2 separate regions of the Homo sapiens genome follow, and region 1 is linked to region 2. Evidence: promoter capture Hi-C in human tissues and cell types (Jung and others, 2019). All regions are on one chromosome and are shown on one strand. Each heading gives the region's core, a stretch centred on a gene start or on the middle of the fragment in contact. The rest is flanking DNA. Distances are from core to core; before and after follow the strand shown.

Region 1 (3,735 bases), core at 301-2,800, 1.1 Mb before region 2:
CAATGTATACTCCTGAAGTAGACAGTGACTTAAACATTTAAAGGAATCAGGGACATTTGGCTAAGAACTGGATGTGAGGTAATATATAATTGTTGTTGTTGTTTTTTTTTTTTTTTTTTTGTTTGTTTTTTTTTTAAAGACAGAATTTCACTCTGTCACCCAGGCTGGAGTAGAGTGGCACCACTTAGGGCTCACTGCAACCTCCGCCTCCCAGGTTCAAGCCATCCTCCTGCCTCAGTCTCCCGAGTAGCTGGAATTACAGGCGTGCGCCATCATGCCTGGCTAGTTTTTGTGTTTTTAGTAGAGATGGGGTTTCACCATGTTGGCCAGGCTGGTCTTGAATGGCCTCAAGTGATCCACTCACCTCGACCGCCCATGCCTGGGATTACATGCATGAGCCACCGCGCCCGGCTATATTTTATTAAATGTATTACATGTTCTTTTAGTCAGGCTTCACCACAGAAATAGAACTAATTAAAGATACAGCTATATCTATATTATCTATATCTGTATGTATATCTATGTCATCTATATCTATATCTATATTGAGGTAGAAAAAACAGAGAGTGAGAAGAAGGAAAACAGAGAGAGATTGAGGTTTTTTTCTTAAGGAATTGTCTTACCTGATTGTGGAGGCTGACAAGTCTGAATTCTGTAGGGCAGGCTGGCAGGCTGAAAATTCTGGAAAGAGTTGATGTTACAGTCTTGAGTCTGAAATCTGAATGGTAGGCCAGCAGGCCGAAACTCAAGCAAGATTTCTTTCTCTCTTTTTTTTTTTTTTTGAGACAGATTCTCGCTCTGTCGCCCAGGTTGGAGTGCAATGGTGTGATTTCACTCACTGCAACCTCTGCCTCCCGGGTTCAAGCAATTCTCCCGCCTCCTAAGTAGCTGGGATGACAGGCGCCTGCCACCATGCCCAGCTAATTTTTTGTGTTTTTAATAGAGATGGAGTTTCGCCACATTGGCCAGGCTGGTCTCAAACTCCTAACCTCAGGTGATCCACCCACCTCAGCCTCCCAAAGTATTGGAATTACAGGCGTGAGCCACTGTGCCCTGCTGCAAGATTTCTATATTGCAGTCTTGAGGCAGAATTCTTTCTTATTCAGGAAAGCTGTCTTTGTGTAGACCTTCACGGATTGAATATGGCCTACACACATTATGAGAGGTGATCTGCTTTTACATAAAGTCAATTGATTGTAAATCTTAATCACATCTAAAAAAATACCTTCACAGTAACATCTAGACTAGTGTTTGACAAAACAACTGTGCACTACAGTTTACCCAAATTGACACAAAAAATTAAGCATCGCAGGTGTTGTCCTAGTCAACACTACTATACCAAAATACCATAAACTGGGTGTCTTATGAACAACAGAAATATATTTGCCATAATTCCAGATGCTGAAAGTCTGAGATCAAGGTGCCAGCACGGTTGAATTCTGGCGAGGGCCCTCCTCTAGGTTACAGACTGCCAGCTTCCCATTGTATCCTAACATGGAAGAAAGAGGGTGAGAGGGGCCTCTGAGGACCCTTTTATAGGAGCACTAGTCCCATGCATAAGCACCCCATCCTCATGACCTAATTACTTGCCAAAGGCTCTACCTCCTAATACCATTGCATTGAGGGTTAAGAAATTAATGTATGAATTTGGGAGGCACACAAAAGTTCAGTCCATAACAGGTAATAATTTTTTTTTGCATATAAAGAATGTTTTTTGAGATTTAAGGAATTTTGTGGTGGAGTATGCTGTTTGCTATTTTCTTTGAAGTATCCCAGAAAAGTAAGTGATTTTTTAAAAGATTGAATTTTCAGATTGGGTTCATACGAATCTACCTATATGGTATTTATAAAAGACACTTCTAAAACATACGGCATGGCAAGGTTTGAAGTAAAGGATTAACAAGATACACTAGGTAAATAATAATCTAAAGAAAGCTGAGTTAACTATATTAAGTAAGACAAAATAGACTTCAACTTAAAAGCATTATTATATACAGAGTCCCATCATGTAAAGGGCTTGATTTGGTAATATTATAATAACAATTATAAACTTATAAGTCACTAATAAAAATAACCTCAAAGTATACAAGAAAAATTGGAAAGAATTACAAAACGAAATGGACAAATTCTCTACCAAGGAAGGAGATTCCAACACATTTCTTACAGTCACTGATAGATTAATAAGACCAAAATTAGTAAAGATATGGATAAGATAAGCAAAATTATAAGCTTGATTTATTGAATACAGAATTCTCAGTACAAGGAATATATGTCTTACTGTTGTATTCAATTTGAAGTTTCTAGGAGAGAATTATCTTATTTGTTATTAGAGGATACTTTTGGATCTGACACTACTGTTCAAATAGACCATGATTAGATATACCTGAGATCTTAGAATAAAGGTTTAATAATTATTCTATATTAAAATTGATTTTTCAGGTTACCTCCTAGGAGATGAGCTTCAAAATCAGGGTCAGTTTATGAAATGGTTTCATATAATGTATTGTAACTTTGAAAGAAACACTTCTAGACTTAAAATCATTTTGTTCTGAAGCTACATTTGTAAAACTTCCTTTATTTCAAAATTAGATTATAATATCAGCCCAGGATAAGTGAGCATTGCTCATTTGAACCTAAATTTGAATCTCTAAATTATATTGAATCTTCATAAGACTCAAGACTCCACTAATCTTAAGGAACTTATAAAATTAATGATTTATATCTGGACTCAAGACTCCACTAACCTTAAGGAACTTATAAAATTACTAAGAATTTTTGGTTTTACATGACTAAATAAATGATTTATATCTGGATTTTGGTAATTAAGTTTTTCATCCAATAAGGACCAAAGTAAGTGTTGGAATATTGATAGTGGGAATTATCATTTCTAATTCTTTCACATGCTTTCATATGTTTTCTTTTCCAATGAATGGAAATATTGTGATACATCAGCATGTTTTCCCACAGGAAAAACATTATTTGTGGCATGCCCTTTTCTTCATCCTGATTCCAAGGGTCATTCTACACTTTAGAGGTGCTAAACATTTCAGTTTCATGAAGTGCTAAATATTTAAATTTCATGCAAAAGCTACGTATGTATAAGTTTGGGTGTGCCTGAGTAAATGCATTTGTCTAATTAATAGCATTTTACCTGTGAAGAAAAGTCCACTTTAGTATTTTAGGGTTTTCCTTGGTTATTAAAAAGTATAGATTTCTTACGTAATGATTGCAGTAAAGATATAGTGTATTTTGTCTATAGACACACAGATTCCTATATACATTTTTGTCAAAAGCTTTATGTTTTCTCTTATTTTGAAATACATGGAGTTTTTCTTATCTAAATTAGATACTTTCTTAATTTCTAAGGCAGTTAAAAATAAGTATTATTCACTGACTTCTGTTTCAACACGCGGCACAGTATAAGAGCTTAAATAAAAGGTTGATGTGTTTTTTTGCCGTCACTCAAAGAACATGAAGATATTTCCAGGTGACTCACATAGAAAGGAAGCACACAAATTCTCTTGCAATTTGTTACTCTTTCTTTTATCAATATTCCACATTTATAAAAATGTAACTTTTTAATCTAACTTGTGGTGCCATTCACTGTTCTTATGAGTTCAACATAGCATTTGAATTCAAGAGTTAATACTTGCAAGCATGTTTATCTTGATGCCAAGAGTATAACTCATAGATTTATCTTCAGAATTATAGCAATTTAGTATACTAAGCCTGCCC
Region 2 (3,512 bases), core at 543-3,042:
TTAGTCACATGGAGGGAAGTTGGGTTTTGGCACAAGTTTATTGTAAACTCATAAACTCATAAACAATCAAAAACTGAAGAAAAAAATAAGGCCCACGATACCTGAAATTGTATTTTGATGGAAGTCAGATAAGTAATGTTGTCCTCCAAGAAAGTATAAAAGTTTACTACATTTGTATAGATACTGCTAGAAAATAAATTCACAAAAGTCCTGCTATGATTTGATTCACATCAAATTACTTTGTTCCTGGTGATTTCACAAATAGATTGAGAAAACTGACATTTAATTTCTTGTCTGTTTTATTAGAATTTTTTAAGCGGAAACAAAAGACTTAACTGTACACTAAGAAATCTCTGGGTTTTCATTGTGCCTACATTATATTGCCCTTCCATACTTAAGCCTTAAGATAAAAATCACCTGTCTACCGTCCACCAAAAAGTAATATTTTATTTTTAATCCAGAAAATTGGGTGCCCTTGCTGCATTTGAAAGATGGCTACACACAAGTATTGTGTACCAAAAAGAAATTATTTCCAATATGGGTTAATATTTTTACTATGGAGATGATAAGCTTTAAAATTTTAAATGGTAATTTACCTTTCAAATTAAAAATAAAGAATTATATGAAATTAAAAAAATACTTGTTTATGCATTTGGACACCTCCTGTTTCCACCACCATGCCTAGGCCAACCTTGAACCTCCAAATTTGTGGGTGGAACCTTGGTGCCCACTTGGACCCCCAAACTATCCTCTTCAGGTAAAGGCTCTGTGAGAACCAAGTGCAAGGTGATGGATGGGAGACTCAAGGAATGAGACAGCCAGGGAAAAACTAGGACAGTGAGGTTTCATTTTCAGACATAAAAAGATGTAGAATCAGTTGAAAAAAGGACCCTGTTCCTCTGCAGAGGCAACCACACTTCTGAAGACCTTAGACCTGGCACGGTGGCTCACGCCTGTAATCCCAGCATTTTGGGAGACTGAGGGGGAAGATCGCTTGACGCCAGGAGTTCAAGGCTCCAGCGAGCTGTGACTGTGCCACTGCACTCCAGCCTGGGTGACAGAGTGAGACCTTGTCTCGAACAAAACAAAACAAAACAAAAACGAGGTTGGGGGAAGACATTAGAGCCCTCTGATCTTCTAATAACTCCCAGGTCAACCTTGGGAGTCGTGTGGCCATGTGCTAAAGCGTCCTGGGACAACTGTAAGAGCTCTGGGAATCACTGGCAAATACAGGTGACAAACCTCATGGTTTGGCTAGTGTCTAAATGCGGTCCTTTCCACTTCTGAAAACCTGTCACAGAGGCAGAAGAAAAGGCATCTACTGTTGCAACGTTAGTGTCTACTCCTCCTCCTGTCGTTCATCACTGAGATCTAAGGTGACAGGAGCATTTTCAGCGCCTTCGCCTTGGGGTGCAAACCAGTAGCGCCCATTACGCAGTTAGGAATCCGTCTGCAGATACAATCATGGGAAACTTCCCCTTCCAACGGAACCTTGTGAGGCTTCTTTTATGCGAGGTCCATCTGAGCAGTTTCTAGGATTACCAAGTTTTCATACAGCCTCTGTTAGAACAGCAAGACGCAGCGGGCGGAGAGCTACATCCCTGTAGCTTGACTCCTGGCTGTGCGACTGCACGGTGACATCCAAGGCGGCGGAGCCACTGCCGGTACACGCTGGGCTATGGGGACAGGTTGGGCGTGGCTTTCAGGTCAGCCAGCAGCCAAAATGGGAAGGGAGGAGTCGCAGACGGATTACGCGAAGGCTCTATCCCACGAAAGGACTGGGTGCACCCCAGAACGAGGACGCGGAGCTTCCCTGTTCCAAGCAGCAACAGACTGAGAAAATCCAAGAAAGGAGGCCCGAGGGGCTGCTGTGGCCCCATCCTCCTGGCACCCGCGGCCCGGGCTCTGCGACGCCTTTCGCCCCACCTGCGGAAGCAGCGATGCCTGGCGGAGCCTGCGTGCTGGTGATCGCGCTGATGTTCCTGGCCTGGGGGGAAGGTAAGCGAGGTAGGGCGCGCGGGGGTGGGCGCGCAGTGGCGCCGCGTGGGCGGTAGAGGGACTAGGCTAGACTTTTTGGACGACTTGGGGAGCGTCCCTGTGCGTTTTAAGGCAGCAAGCGATGTTTGTTCCTCACCCGCCTCCTCTCTGTCCCTCTGCTGTCTTTGAAAAGGTCAATTTCCAGCTTGAAAACTCTACACTTTTCTTTTGCGCACATGCGGTTGTTGCCTCCTCTTACTCTACGACCCTTGGTTCTGTTTTTGGTTGTTTCCTGCTGTTATCCTGCTCTTTGAGGTCATTGTAATTTACTGTAAGAAACTTTCGCCGGATCTGCAAGGTATGCTAGCCGCAAGTGGACCTGAATTCTCAGAACAGAGTTGAATTCCATACTGCACGAATTCCACCTCCAACCGGACCCTCAGAAATAATTCATTGGTGAACATTTTATCCCTACAATAAATCACCAAGTTAAGTTTTGTATATCCGTATTATACTGTATTATGGTTTTTGTATATATATGTTAGAATCAGTTTTGGCACTGTAAAAGAGATCTCTGTGGAGCGAATACTCCCCTCCTACTTCTTTAATCCATGACAAAGAACATTTAGTTTAAAATACAGTGAAGTTAAACCAAAACTACTTTCATTAGCCCTTTTTGCTTGTTTTTTGTGTTCATACAGATAGGAATATTAATGAAAGGTGACTTGTTCTTATATTGCAAGTTTCCTTACGTTTTTCAGAAAAAGTCTGATCTGTGTTCAACCATCTGCAGCTTGAAAAAACATTATGTACAACATTTATAGCAGTCCAGGGTATAGTTTTGTCTTATCATTTTTTGATCTTAACTCATTTTACTGATGTAAGTTTGCTTTGTATAAGGGGAATACAAACACTATCCTATACAAAACTTAAAAATAAAATACTAAAATCAAATTTATTATTTTCTGCAATGATATTTTTTCTGGTCCTTCTTTGGTTTGCTTACAGCGTTACTAAATCTTTATGAATAACTTTAAAAAATACATGTAATAACATATATCTGTTCATTACAGTTAGATAAATATTTCCAGGAAAAAAATGACCAATGTTTATAAAGGAAGATGATTTCATGTTTACTATAGACCGCATAACCCTTTTTTGCCTCTATATAATAGCTTTGTAATCTCTCTGCTGAAGACAAATATTACCCATTACCAGGTTTTAAGTTCATAACATTGGTAACATTGTCAAGTTCTTTATGTTTAATGGAGTAAAACTAGAAGACGAGGTAAATGGAAAATGCATTTATTGAGACTTCTTTTTTTCAAATAGCTTTATTAAGATGTTCATATACCATACAAATCACTCAAAGTGTGCGACTCTATGGTTTTTCATTTTCACAGATATGTGTATATTCAGAGTATATTTACAGGTATATGCAGCGATGACCACAGTCAATTTTAGAACATATTTATCAATCAGAAAGAAATACTATACCCTGGGCTATCATGCCGCATGCCGGCTATCACCCTCCC

Evidence for each region. Contacts are between HindIII fragments. The study calls those that stand out against the background at their distance.
Region 1: a fragment that was not itself captured here is called in contact with the fragment with the promoter of VWDE in region 2 in 1 of the 25 tissues and cell types used here (dorsolateral prefrontal cortex).

The regions. Positions count from the first base shown.
Region 1 is chr7:13,500,309-13,504,043 of GRCh38, reverse strand. The region is part of intron 2 of LOC107986770 (a long non-coding RNA gene); the gene reads right to left. Among named protein-coding and RNA genes, the nearest start is that of ETV1, 490 kb to the left of the region's middle. The HindIII fragment of the contact is 7,390 bases long and covers 1-3,735 here.
Region 2 is chr7:12,402,145-12,405,656 of GRCh38, reverse strand. It overlaps VWDE (von Willebrand factor D and EGF domains), which reads left to right and starts at 1,792. Exons shown (of 29, transcript NM_001135924.3): 1 at 1,792-1,998. The coding sequence starts at 1,941. RefSeq lists silencers at 870-1,059, 1,997-2,046, 1,940-2,234 and enhancers at 1,371-1,936, 1,937-2,504. The HindIII fragment of the contact is 10,470 bases long and covers 1-3,512 here.